Regions from separate parts of the Homo sapiens genome. Here region 2 is linked to region 1. The links are contacts of gene promoters, found by promoter capture Hi-C in blood cells and fetal thymus (Javierre and others, 2016). All regions are on one chromosome and are shown on one strand. Each heading gives the region's core, a stretch centred on a gene start or on the middle of the fragment in contact. The rest is flanking DNA. Distances are from core to core; before and after follow the strand shown.

Region 1 (7,057 bases), core at 1,085-3,584:
GAAATGAGATACTTGTTTCCTGTCAAGGAATTTTATTTCTTAGCCTGTTCACTTACTTGCAGGGTTCTTAACATTGGATCTGAAGGATTTTAAAGAGTTAACTTAGAGAAATTGTGAAATGGGATACTTGTTTCCTGTCAAGCAATTTTATTTCTTAGCTTGTTCACTTACAGGATTGGATATAACATTGGATCTGAAAGATTTTTAAAAGTTATCTTATCCAATTAAGGGGATAATGATTGGAGACATGTTTCTTAAGCACCAAAGTCAGTAAGTGAATTTTGCTACCAGTTTTTTAATGTTGGCTGCAGTTCTGCCTTTATCTTACAAAAAAGAAAAAAAAAAAAGAATTAGCATTGCTCCATGCTACCACCTGTGTAGACTTAAAAGCTTTAACCTGAAAATATTCCTAATGAATATAGAGGAGAGAAAGCAAACTGGCATGAATATAAAAAGGACTTTTTCCATAAGAGATCCCCTGAGGAATGAGGCTTCATTTTGCACCAGAGGCTGTGTCTCCCTGAGAAAATAAAGAGATCCCTGGGGTATTAACGTCTGAGACATACATTTATAGAGCTTGGTTAGTGCTCAGAAACAAGAAAAGTCTTAACAGGGATAGTATATTGGAATTAGGTGGTACATATAAGTAAATGCAGATACACTGGTAGGAAATTGGGTTTCATAAAAATTCTGTGTTTCTTTATAAAGGAAAAGTCTGAAGTTTGAATGAACGGCAGGCCTGCCTGAGGAAAAAATTGATCCTGCTGAGGATGGATGAAAGCTGTGGGCCTGAATCAAGAAACCCAGACTTTATAAAGAGTCAAACTTTAGGAGGTTTACACTTTACATTAGGATTTCTCATTTTGTTACCAGGATCTTTTTAACCTTTTTGATCCTTTAATCCTTGAAAGGATTTGGACTTTGTGTGTCATTTGATAAAAGAGAACTTCCGGGAATACAGTTCCCATTGCTAGGAGTGCTGCTTAAACATAACCACTTGTGAGGAGCCAAGACCCCAGGCAAAACCGGGGGCCAGTTTCTGGGCCCAGGTGATTGTTAAATTTAGAGGTCTTGATCACAGCTATAGGAAATAGCTTTTCAAACAAAACATTGGTGAGTCAGAATTTATCGAACACCACCATTTATACATTAAATAAACACTAAGAAAAAATATTCTAGCGACAAATGTAGTGGTGAAAACATGGAATGGATTTGAGAAAATACATCAACGTCTTCTCCAGGTATAAAAAAACGTATTATTTAGTGGAACTTTCAGTCTGACTAGAAAGTGGACATAGCATTTATTAAAAGGACAAGAACAACAACAAAAAATTAAAGTAGGACAAATGTGTTTAAGGTACTTTATAGTTTTATTTTTATTTATTTATTTCTTTGAGACGGAGTTTTGCTCTTGTCCCCCCAGGCTGGAATGCAATGGTGCGTTCTCGGCTCACTGCAACCTCCGCCTCCCAAGCTCAAGCGATTCTCCTGCCTCAGTCTAAGGAATAGCTGGGATTACAGGCACACGCCACCACGCCCGGCTAATTTTTGAATTTTTGGTAGAGACGGGGTTTCGCTATGCTGGCCAGGCTGGTCTGGAACTCCTGAGCTCAGGTGATCGATCACGCCCGCCTCAGCCTCCCAAAGTGCTAGGATTACAGTCGTGAACCACCGCGCCAGGCCTACTTTATAGTTTTAATTTTTTTTTTTTACATAAAAGTGGTTTATTTGTATGTAGACCTCTACATAAAAATTACAATGAGGGTTATTCCCAGGTATAGGAGCGGTGTTTCTGGTTAAAGAAATCATGAATGATGTTTTCAGAGACACTCATGAAAGAGAAATGGCTCCCCGGGTTCTGAGGGTGAGGAGCAGCGCCCGCCCTCTAGGATGCTTCCAGAGTGAGTGTGCAGCACAGCCGGACCGAGGAAAAGGATTATTCCCCTCTTCACGCGGGTCGGGCCGTGCCCTGGACTACAGCTCCCGTCGTGCCCCTGGCCACTCGTATTCGGCCCCGCCCCGCCTGCCGTGTCCCGCGGCGAGCGCAGGCGCGCTGCACTCGGTCACCGCGGGCTGCGGCGGCTGGGCGGGGCTTTCGGGCGCCCGCGGGACGGTTCCGCCCTCTCACTGCACCCCCGGGCTTCTCTTCGCAAGGTTCACCTCGAATGAGGAACAAGCGGGGAGGGAAGGGAAGGGCTGCGGCGGCGCGGGCGCACCCCGTCGGGCCCGGGGCTGGGGGAGGCCAGGTCACGTAACTGCTGCTCTGGCGTCGGGCCGGGGAGGGGGCGCCAGCCCCGGCAGCGCGAACCCTGCGCGCGCCGCGGCTCTGAAACAGTTACCGGCTAGTAAACAACAGCTGCGCGCGCACCCGCATCAGCTGGCGCCGGGATACTGCACCTGCGACCTCCTTCTCCCTCACCCTGCTGCCCAGTCAGGCCAGCCTGCGTGGCCGTCTCCTCCTCTACTGGGACCCTGAGGAAGAACGACGAGGGGGTGACCTGCGCCGGGGCGGGGGTAGGGGAGAACGCGCCTCCGGCAAAGGGGGTGGCTCGTCCTGTCACACGCAGGAGAAACCTAGCGAGCGGACCGTGGCTCAGTGGACTAGCTACGACTTGCCACGACTCTGAGCTGCAGTCCGAGGTGTCTTGATCCGCTAACCTCCTCCCAGACCCCGAGGACCTTTCTGCTAGGAGAAGAGCGGGCGCGCCACCCCCACCGACCTCTCGGAGACAGGAATCCGCTCTGCCCCTGCATCCTCCTCTGCTCACCCTTCTCTCAGTAGTGTGGGTTATTTTTCCCGTTATGCATGTGCACCTTTCCCACCAGACCCAAGTGGATTGTCGACATCAAAAACACCGGGTGGCTTTGCATACACCTCCCCCCAGCCAGACCTGTGGGGTATTCACCTGATACACAACAGGTGGCCGGGTGTACACCTTTTAGCAATCTGATCCACGCTATAGTCGCCTGATAAAGGTTTGCCTGCACGCACTTCGCCCAACTAGAACCGTGGGACACTCACCAGATAAAGGACTACCTCGACAGGAAACTGGGGGCTGAGGGGAGGGAGGCTTCATCTGCTGCCCTGAGACCATGGCACTGAGCCTTCAGCCCCGGACCAGAGGGGTTAGCTAGGTAGCTCTTCATTCTGAAGGAAAGAAGTCACACAAGATTGGCATTGTTTTGTCTTTTTGTTTTTTGTTTTTTTCTCTCTTAAAAAATATATTCACCTATTGGTGATGCACTTTCTAGGACAGTCGGCTTGAATTCTGAGTAGAAGTATTCTTAGTTGGGGCTTTTTGTGTGGTGTGAATCAAGGTTATTGAAATGTGTTATTTTTCAAGTTATCTTTTGTATTGCAGTCAAAAGTAGCTAGCGTAAGAGGAAGATTTTGCGAGGTTCCCCCCACTTTTTTTGTTCTTAAAAAGAACAAAATGCATCCTCCAGAAACCACCACCAAGATGGCTTCAGTTCGGTTCATGGTGACACCGACAAAGATCGATGACATTCCAGGTTTGTCAGACACCAGTCCGGACCTCAGCTCTCGATCTAGTTCCCGAGTAAGATTTAGCTCCCGGGAAAGCGTGCCTGAAACAAGCCGGAGTGAGCCTATGAGTGAGATGTCTGGGGCCACCACTTCGCTGGCAACTGTTGCACTGGATCCACCCAGTGACCGGACTTCTCACCCCCAGGATGTCATCGAGGGTAAGTAGAAACACAGACCGCAGCATACTTTCATTACTGGGTTCTTTATCCAAGATGACCATCTATGGATCTGGAAGATCATAATCATATAATTATGATTATAATAGTCATCAGGAACCAAGGCATCTCTTTGTGAGATGCTTAGGAACTCTTTGGAATAATAGCATAGTGGCTCTTTGCAGTAGTAATTTGGTATGTGGGAAGGTGTATGACAAGAAGGAAGGCAAATGTATATTTTAACTTCCTCATTTTTGTCTTCTTAGAAATGAAATGGGTATTTTGGTTAAAAGTGAATATCAAAGAATGTAATCGTTTTCAGCACACAGAATCCTAAATTTTAAAATTTAGTGAGTTGGATATGTGTTCTGTAGCCATCATTGGCTATTTCAGTCTGCTTTAAGACTGGTTTCATGGAGTAGTTACTGGTCGTATCTTAGCAGCTTTCCTCCAAGACTTCGAATGTGTATTGCAAAATTCTTTTTTGAAATCTGTATTTTTATGGAGACCTTGACACAAGTAGCTAAGCCCACTCAGGGTGATGGTGGGTAGACCTAATGTGCTATTCTGTCAAATGGAAGACTTCTGAAAAGGCTTTTAGGGCCTGATTCCCATGTAATTTATTCTCTCTGAGCTTTAGATGGAAAGTCTGATGATTAGAGTTAGCAGGTAGCACACAAGCCACTCCTGGCTCATGTTGACTGCTACAGACCTTTAGCTTCCTAAACCAGTTTGTGTGTGTCAGCTGGCTTGGTTTTATTTGAGGTACTGGGAAGAGGTGATGGAAGAGAGAGAAGAGAGAAAATGGGGAGATCATAACATTTTTTGGACTCTGAAATTTAAAAGTTTGAGACCTGTACTGCTTTATATATTTAGTTTTATGCTGTGTTGTAACTAATGTAATCTTTTAATGATAAAAATTTCCCTTAAAGACTCTTAAAATAATATTCCACCCAAGTTTGAAAACCATAGCCTCACCCACTGACTTGTGAAAGCAAGGCTTACTCACCATTTTCCGGTGTCAGGAAATATTGTTCCTTTTAACCTAAAGGGTTCAGGAAACCAGAATGATTTTAGTTCCCTAATTCTGTTTGTGTTTTTAGTATCTGGAGACAAGGTAGATTTGGTAAAGTTTACAGTCCTAGAATTCACTCATCCTTGACTAATCATTTTTTCTTTTATGGAGACATAGGTTGGTTCTCAGACTTTACTGTTTTCAACTTTTTGACAAATTTTACAGTGTGTCATACACTGGATTAAAATTACAGTATGGAATACAAATTTATCATTTCCTCTTCCTCCAAATTAATTCCAAATTGTGGTTTTAGTTTTTATCCATCATGCTGTATTTAGGTTGTAAAAATTCCAGGTAAAGACTATACCAGTGTTAATTTCTTAATATTGTAATTATCATTAGGTAATTTATAGTTTAGTTTGTTAGACTTGTGACTTACATGTTACAGAATTGTATTTTTATTCTTTGGAAAAGTGGACTTAGTAATGTGTTAGACCAGCAGAACAGGTTCCTTGTCCAGTCTGCGGTTCTTACGTTACCCTTAAGCATTCTTTACAGTCTAAAGTGGTATCCTTTTACACTATAGGGGTAAAAATGGGACTACAGGGGTAAAAATGGGGACATATCTAAGTGAAATTTATGTTTGTTTACGTGGTTACAGATGTTAAAAGCTTGGTTCTCTATATAACACATTCCTTACTTAATGTTTAAATATTCTCCGGTACCCAGATGAAAGGGAAATTAATAGTCTGGCCATTAGAGAGGACTTTGCCCTATTCTCGTGGAACTTTATACTTTCTCAGTGACCTACCTTTTCTCTTTTTTTTTCTTTCTATATTTAAAAAAATTCTTATGATGACTGTCATCATGTGATAAATTTTCCCCACCATTAGAAGAAACCACTTAGAAACACAATTATTTCACCCTTGACTTCTCAGTATGTGAAAGCCCTTGTTAGATTTAGATGTAGATCTTCAAAGGGTGCTGTTGTGAAGAAAAGGGCCTAATGTTAATATACACTTCCCTCTAGGCTGGCTTTAATATAGATAACAACTGCATCCTTTCTACAGTTGACTCTCCTTAAGCTCATAGTGCATTTCACAGTTAGTTTGCTATTTTAGTATTTACAGTTCTCTGAATTTTTTCACCCTTTGTACATCCTTCTGTGGTTGTGACATTAGTATGATTCTCCTTTCCCCCATGCCTCCCACGTTTCTTCCTGTAGAGAAACTTCCCACCCGAAGTTTCTTGTCATATGTCTTCTACTCACATTACATCACACAAACAGGAGGTGACACATGAAGTTTTTTTTGTTTTTTTTTTTTTTGAGATGGAGTTTCACACTTGTTGCCCAGGCTGGGGTACAAGGGCGCAATCTCCACTCACTGCAATCTCTGTCTCCCGGGTTCCAGTGATTCTTTTGCCTCAGCCTCCCAAGTAGCTGAGATTACAGGCATGCACCACCACACCTGGCTAATTTTTTGTATTTAGTAGAGATGGGGTTTCATCATGTTAGTCAACCTGGTCTCAAACTCCTGACCTCAGGAGATACACCCACCTTGGCCTCCCAAAGTGCTGGGATTACAGGCGTGAGCCACAGCGCCCAGCCCTACATGAAGTTTTAAATACTTATTTCAGTATATTTTAATTTTTTCTGCTGTTGGCTTTCTGAGTAGTTTTCTTTCTGCTATCAAAGTAATTTTTCTTTCATTTTGGCAAGGCTCCATTTGAATTTATAGGACTGTCCAGTTGGTAAAATCAAGAATCTTAGCAGTGTATTAGCTTATGTATGAAGAACGCCTTAAAGATACAAAAGAAACTGTTGAGAGTGGATGCCTCTGGAAAGTGAGTTACAAAAATAGAGTGGAGCCAGGCACGGTGGCTCACGCCTGTAATCCTAGCACTTTGGGAGGCCGAGGCGGGTGGATTCCCTGAGCTCAGGAGTCCGAGACCAGCCTGGGGAACACGGTGAAACCCTGTCTCTACTAAAAATACAAAAAATTAGCCAGGCGTGACGGCGTGCGCCTGTAATCCCAGCTGCTCGGGAGGCCTTGACAGGAGAATTGCTTGAATCCAGGAGGCGGAGGTTGCAGTGAGCTGAGATCACGCCGCTGCACTCCAGCCTGGGTGACAGAGCGAGACTCTGTCTCAAAAAAAAAAAAAAAGAAAAAGAAAAAAAAATAGAGTGGAATTTTCTTTTACCAAAACAATTAAGGGCATATACAACTTTTAAGTATTTATAGTGTATCACTTTTATAGTAATTTTTTTGAAAAGCACCACATGTTAGAGCTAATGATCTAGAATCTTATTCTGATCAAACCACATTTTAATAAGTGAGG
Region 2 (7,057 bases), core at 3,300-5,799, 1.2 Mb after region 1:
GGCATGGTAGCTCACGCCTGTAATCCCAGCACTTTGGGAGGCCGAGATGAGCAGATCACCTGAGGTCAGGAGTTCAAGACTAGCCTGACCAACATGGAGAAACCCCCTCTCTACTAAAAATACAAAATTAGCCGGGCATGGTGGTGCGTGCCTGTAATCCCAGCTACTCGGGAGGCTGAGGCAGGAGAATCGCTTGAATCCAGAAGGCAGAGGTTGCGGTGAGCCGAGATTGTGCCATTGCGCTCCAGCCTGGGCAACGAGAGCGAAACTCAGTCTCAAAAAAAAAAAAAGAAAAGACAAGACAAGAAACCAAAATAGCAAATACCGGTACAGGTTATTACTCATATTTTTCTTGTCTTAACCACTAGCATTCTCACTTACTCTTTGTAATATAATTAGTTTGGTGTTCTCTCACTCTACTAAAGTTGCTACCTAAAACTGTCTGTAACATATCTTTTTTTTGAAGCAGTGTCTCACTCTGTCACCCAGGCTGGAGTGGAGTACAGTGGCGTGATCTCGGCTCACTGCAACCTCCACCTCCCGGGTTCAAGCGATTCTCCCACCTTAGTTTCCTAGGTAGCTGGTACTACAGGTGCCAGCTAATTAGCCACACCAAGCTAGTTTTTGTATTTTTAGTAGGGATGGGGTTTCACTATGTTGACCAGGCTGGTCTCAATCTCCTGACCTCAGGTGATCTGCCTGCCTTGGCCTCCCAAAGTGCTGGGATTACAGGCGTGAGCCACCACGCCCGGCCTGTAACACTTTAATTTGTTTCTTTCTTGACCTCTTTGCAGAATTTGATGTTGTCCCCAGCTCCTCATTCTTGACTCCCTGTCTGTTCTCTTTCTACTCCAATCTGTTCTGACATTACTTTTGACTTAATCTTTAAGAGTAGTGCTGAACATACTGCTTCCCTGGTCAAAAATCATCCATGGCTTCATGAGTCATTTGTCTATGAAGATAGCGTTAATATCCTACCAACCTGATTAAAATCCTTGTTTTCTCAGTCCTGTATTACGTTTCTTCCTCTTGGAAGTTCATTTTCTTAATCTCTACCTGTCCAAGGCCCATATTTTAATGAGGGGCTATTTTAAAATGCTTTCTTCTGCCTGAAGTGTTATTCTGATTCTACAAACATGATGTTGACTCTCCTTTTTTTTTTTAACTCCTCTGATTTGTTCTTTGATACCTTATAGGTCTCTTTCTGCTGTGTATTGTAGTAATTTTGTTATTATTCCTACGTTCTTACTCCTACAGTGTGGAGGTTGTTTAAAGAAAAACCCCTCAGTGGCTCACCCCTGTAATCCCAGCACTTTGGGAGGCTAAGGTGGGCAGATCACTTGAGCTCGGGAGTTTGAGACCAGGCTGCACAACATGGCAAAACCCTGTCTCTACAAAATATACAAAAATTATCTGGGCATGATGGCATGTACCTGTTTTCCCAGCTACTTGGAGGAGCTGAGGTAGGAGAATTGCCTGGGCCCAGAAGCTGGAGGTTGCAGTGAGCTGAGATCACGCCACTGCACTGCAGCGTGGGTGACAGAGCGAGACCCTATCTCAGAAAGAAGAAAAACAAAAAGGAAAGCAAAGAGAAGAAAAACTCCATGGAAAGAAGAAGAGCCATTAACCTATTGCAGAACTTCCTTTTTTTTTTTTTCTTTTTTGTTTTTTGAGACGGAGTCTTGCTCTGTCACCCAGGCTGGAGTGCAGTGGCACGATCTCGTCTCATTGCAAGCTCCACCTCCCGGGTTCACGCCATTCTCCTGCCTCAGCCTCCTGAGTAGCTGGGACTACAGGTGCTCGCCACCACACCTGGCTAATATTTTGTATTTTTAGTGGAGACGGGGTTTCACCGTGTTGGCCAGGGTGGTCTCGATCTCCTGACCTTGTGATCCGCCCGCCTCAGCCTCCCAAAGTGCTGGGATTACAGGCGTGAGCCACTGCGCCCAGCCTTCCTTTGTTTTTTTAATCTACTCTTTGAAAAAGCTGCACTCCATCCCAGGGTGGATGGAAAGGAGAAAGGCAGGCAATAACTTGTCCAAAATCACACAGGAGAGGCAGAATTCAAAGCCATCTAGGACTAAATGAGCAAGGGGAGGGGGCAGTAATGGTACTCAGAGAAAGCAGCTGCAGCTGGAGGAGAACTACCCCAGAGGAGCGTGGTCTTCATTAGAGGGCACGCCTACTACCAAACTATAGCCCAGGAGATAGGGAGTCAGGGGATAAAGGTCCCGAGCCCTCTTCCATCTGCCCTCCAATCTGTTACTGTTTCCCAATGGCTAAATCTAGTAGAAGCCACAGGGCAAGGAAACTTGTTGATTGAGTTCATAAAAGTCAGTCTCTTGGTCTTAGGAGGGTGTGAAAGGTAGAGTGTGAATTTGACTGAACTAATAAAAATTTTCCAGTTTAGAAATGGAATACAGGTAATCTGTCTTAGCCGTGTTGGGCTCAGATGGAGTCACAGGGAAAGACTGTGCCAATGACTAGGCAAAGAAAGCTTTGCATTGGCCTTTTAAGGCCAAAATCAATTAGGATGTCTGCCGTCAGCAGACAGAATGACGACAACTAATTCTTGAATCTTATTTTTAGCATTGGTGAAATATGCTATGAACAATAGATAGCATCTACTAAAAGGCAATCATTTCTCATTAGGATGAGGCAGAACAGATATTTCCATTTGGGGTAGAGTGAGGTAATCTACTTGTTTATTGGAAAAAGAATCAAGGGAGAAATCACTGCTGCAATGTTGTCATAGACAGAATGCCAGCCTGGAGCCTGTCAGAGGAAATAGAAGACACGAAGACTCCCTGGGAAGCAAAGTGCTTTTACCTTGAACATAACCAGAGCAGGTCACTTCACAGGCCAAATTAAGATGTATAATTTAGTGTGTGCCTCTGCAGAGCCGCTGCATTTGAGTCCAAGTAGAATGAGGCAATGCTGTTTGAAATAGTCCTGTGAACTCAGCATGGAATTGCAATGCCAGTGTATTTAACCCCAATGCACAGTGATTTCCTGTCCTTTTGCTTTTTTTCTCTTAGGACTTACTGCTCTTTTTCCTCTGGTTTCTTGGATGAAAAATATGTGTGATGATTCCATACTGCATTCTGACTTTCTAATGGGTTGTCACAGAGAAGAGTTTGCCCTGGTCTAAAGCCTTCTTCTGACATGGAACACTCTAGAGGGTTGAGGTTGAAGTTCATTTGCTCAGGGAAGATCCTTTTTTGTTGAAACAACCAGCTAGTCAACCTGGTTTGGCTCAGTCCTCCAGTTCCAATGAGCCTCCTGTGGGTTGTGGTTTTCATGTCAGTTCCATTTTCAAAGCTTTTGCAGTGTTCCATCCCATGTATGTGCCACCCAGTGGCCAGCCTAGGCCCTGGGAAGTTGTCTTATCTCTTCATTTTTTTTCAAAGCCCTTCGTATGGTGTTTAAGTTCAGATCCACAATCCACAGGCTGGGGTTAATTCAGGTATCCATGAACAACTTTATGGGTCACTTTCTAAGATCCTTCTCCATAATCTTTCCCATACTTCTGGGCTCTCTGAGGCTCTGATTTCAGTCCTCTAACTAGAAATCTAGGACTACTAACCCTCCAACTCTTTGGCTGCAAACTTCCTGCAACTCTGCCCACACCCGAAATCAACGAGAGGCAGAACAGAGTGAGAGAAAAAGAAATAGGGTTTTCCCCCATACATCTTGGGACTACAGTTCCTCTAATCATAGAGAAATGTTCTCCTCCCTCAGAGTTTTAGGTGCCAACAAGAAAACTTCTTTCTATTCTTGATTCTGAATTACAGGACTCCTCCTATATCTTCCTCTGTTTGTGCTGATATTCACTGCCATGTTTCAGGCACATTTGAGTCCAGGCTTAGGGGCTACTGAAGGACAAAGTTGAGAAAGTTAGCTGCTTTACAGTTGGTTGATACTTCAAAGCCTGGTCTTCCTCATCAACCTGCTTGTTACCATTTACTTTTAGAGTGTTCAAATAGCTGCTCCATGCATTTTATATTGGTGTTTTTTTTCTGTTACATTCAGTGGGAGAGCTAGGATAGAGTGCACTTACTTTATCTTACATGGAATTGAAACACCTTATATACTGTATGATTCCTTCTAAATGTGTTAACTTTAGCCTAAATCTCATTCTCTATCCCTTTGCATCTAGCAGTGTTGTGGACATATTTGTTTGATTATTCCCCGATACATCAAATTCAATATTTCCACAACTGAATTCATCTTCTTCCCCTGAAGCCTATTCCTCTTCGTGCATTTATCTTTGTGAATGGCACCACAATCTACCCAGTCACCTACATCTGAAATCATGAAACCAAATTCTTTCCTGTCACGCATATCCAATTAACCACCAGACCCTTTCAATTCTATCTTTTTATTTAATTTTTACTTATTTATTTAGAGACAGAGTCTCACTCTTTCACCCACGCTGGAGTGCAGTGGCACAATCTCGGCTCACTGCAGCCTAGATCTCCTGGGTTGAAGCAATTCTTATGCCTTAGCCACCCAAATAACTGGGATTACGGGCATGTGCCACCATGCCTGTCTAATTTTTTCTGTATTTTTAGTAGAGATGGGGTTTTACCATGTTGGTCAGGCTGGTCTTGAACTCAAGTGATCCACCCACCTCAGGCTCCCAAAGTGCTGGGATTATAGTCATGAGGCACCATGCCTGGCCTGAAATCTATCTTTTAAAATTGACCATCTCTTCTCCATCACATTGCTACTGCTTTGGTTTTGGCTATCGCTTCTTTCTGGAATACTGAAAGACCTTTCTAAGTGATTTATACCACTAGTCTTACCCCCTACTTGTCTACTCTCTACTTTACTTCTGAAGTAATCTTTTTATAACAAGTATAAGTAAGTAGCTTAGGATTCTTCATTGGCTCCTATGGATCCTGGGATAGTGAAACTCCTTAGTCTAGTTCAGTACAAAGTTTCTTACAACATACTGCTTCCCAGGGCCCAGAACAAAGGAACTGTAGTCCCAAGATCATGAGACAAACTCCCATTTCTTTTTTCTTCCTCTGTTCTGCTCCTCTTTGGTTCCGGACATGTGCACCACAAGTGTGGTAAGAGCATTCTGTATGGAAGTTTCTGGGTGGATGAGGCAATAGTGTAAAGTTCTTTTTTTTTTTCTTTTTTTTTATAATAGTAGCTTTATGCCTTGCATTGTGGCTTTATTGCTATAAAATCCAATGTTATAATTTTCTAAACCTTGACTTGAGTTTCCCAACTGTGACTAACATATAGAGTTCTAACCATGACATTTTCTCCATTTACATAACCAAGACTTATAAAGACCAGGGGAAAAAAGTACTTAATCCTGTAAACAGGCACTACATGTCTGTAATTCTCATAAAGGATATAGCCTTTATGTCAGTCCTTCTCTTCTTTTATTTCTAAATTAGAATCTTCATTGAGTTTTTACTGCCTATACCAGCTGTAGTGAACTCCTGGTGCCCTTTTTCTAGATTTTATTGTTTAAGGGATGACCTTAGGGAGCAGCACTTTACCTGATCAGACATGTTGAAGCTCTCCAATGAGTGTGGTTTTTGTTTCTTTCTTTTTCTTTTTTTTTTTTTTTTTGAAAGACAGGGTCTTGCTCTGTCACTTAGGCTGGAGTACAGTGGTGCAGTGGCGCAATCTCAGTCCACTGCAGCTTCAACCTCCCAGGCAATCCCCTTGCCTCAGCCTCACTAGCAGCTGGGAGTACAGGCTTGCACCACATTCCCAGCTAATTTTCTCTTTTTTTGTGGAAACAAGCTTTCACTATGTTCCCCAGACTGGTCTCAAATTCCTGAGCTCAAGCAACCTCCCGCCTTGGCCTCCCAACGTGCTGGGATTACAGGGGTGAGCTGCTGCGCCTGGCCTCCGTGAGCGTTAAAATAGCAAGATGTGAGACATTGTTAAGAAATTATGTAACACCAAGTTAACAAAAAAACAAAAAACAGAAAACAACAAAAAAAACTCCTCTATTCAAATTAGATGGAAAACCAGTTTGTTAGTAGAAGGCAGTAGGTGAAGAGCAACATGACCTATGAAGCAATGTAGTGAGAGAGATCTGGGTTTGAAACTTGCATATTCTGAGCCATATTCCCTTAGACAAATTCCTTTATCTCTGAATTTCAGTTTCCTCATCTGTAAAATGGAGATGTACTGATTCCATGAGATAACAAAATGAAAATATAAGTGTATATGTGCTCAGTATATACAAATTCCCTCTCTTAGGGAATAGAATACGCAGTCATATTCCTATTTGAAATTACAGCATAAACTGTGACTTTGAACAGATTCTGAATTTTTTTTTTTTTTTTTTGAGATGGAGTCTCACTCTGTCACCAGGCTGGAGTGCAGTGGCGCGATGTCAGCTCACTGCAACCTTGGCCTCCTGGGTTCAAGGGATTCTCGTGCCTCGGCCTCCTGAGTAGCTAGGATTATAGGCATGCACCACCACACACAGCTAATTTTTGTATTTTTAGTAGAGACGGGGTTTACCATGTTGGCCAGGCTGGTGTCGATCTCCTGACCTGGTGATCTGCCCACCTCGGCCTCCCAAAGTGCTGGGATTACAGGCGTGAGCCACCATACCCAGCCAATTCTGAAAATTTTTAACACTCCTCCCCCAACATCACACACTACTCCTAATCCATGGGAATTGAGGAGATGAGAACAGCTAGAGGAAAATGATGCTTGAAGAGAGAGGAGAGCATTCTATTTTTCCAAAACTCAGCATAGCTCATCTGCTGCTTCCCTTCAGTTTGTCTGAGAATTCATTAATTGAACTCCTAATGCTTAGTGCTCAGCGGATATTGACAGCTTTGCAATTGCTTTTATTACTGATTATTATAAATTACACAATAAGAGACTACCTCCTAAGTGAGTTCTTGGACACATGCAGCGAGTTTTTACCAATAATTATTAAGTATCCCTACACATGTGCATCTTTAGAAAATGCTAGCAATAAGCATTTTAGAAAAGTTTTAAAAATACGGCCGGGAGCAGTGGCTCACACCTATAATCCCAGCACTCTGAGAAGCTGAAGTGGGAG

Evidence for each region. Contacts are between HindIII fragments. The CHiCAGO score rates a contact against its expected background, and 5 or more counts as called.
Region 2: a fragment that was not itself captured here is called in contact with the fragment with the promoter of SLC12A6 in region 1 in 1 of 17 cell types (M0 macrophages); the score reaches 5.4 in M0 macrophages.

What each region holds. Positions count from the first base shown.
Region 1 is chr15:34,333,058-34,340,114 of GRCh38, reverse strand. SLC12A6 (solute carrier family 12 member 6) reads left to right here and starts at 2,334. Exons shown (of 26, transcript NM_001365088.1): 1 at 2,334-2,783; 2 at 3,363-3,705. The coding sequence starts at 3,435. RefSeq lists a silencer at 1,920-2,479 and enhancers at 3,769-3,888, 4,090-4,159, 4,220-4,269, 5,897-5,946. The HindIII fragment of the contact is 4,998 bases long and covers 393-5,390 here.
Region 2 is chr15:33,156,532-33,163,588 of GRCh38, reverse strand. The region is part of intron 3 of FMN1 (formin 1); the gene reads left to right. Among named protein-coding and RNA genes, the nearest start is that of FMN1, 35 kb to the left of the region's middle. RefSeq lists an enhancer at 363-412. The HindIII fragment of the contact is 2,451 bases long and covers 3,324-5,774 here.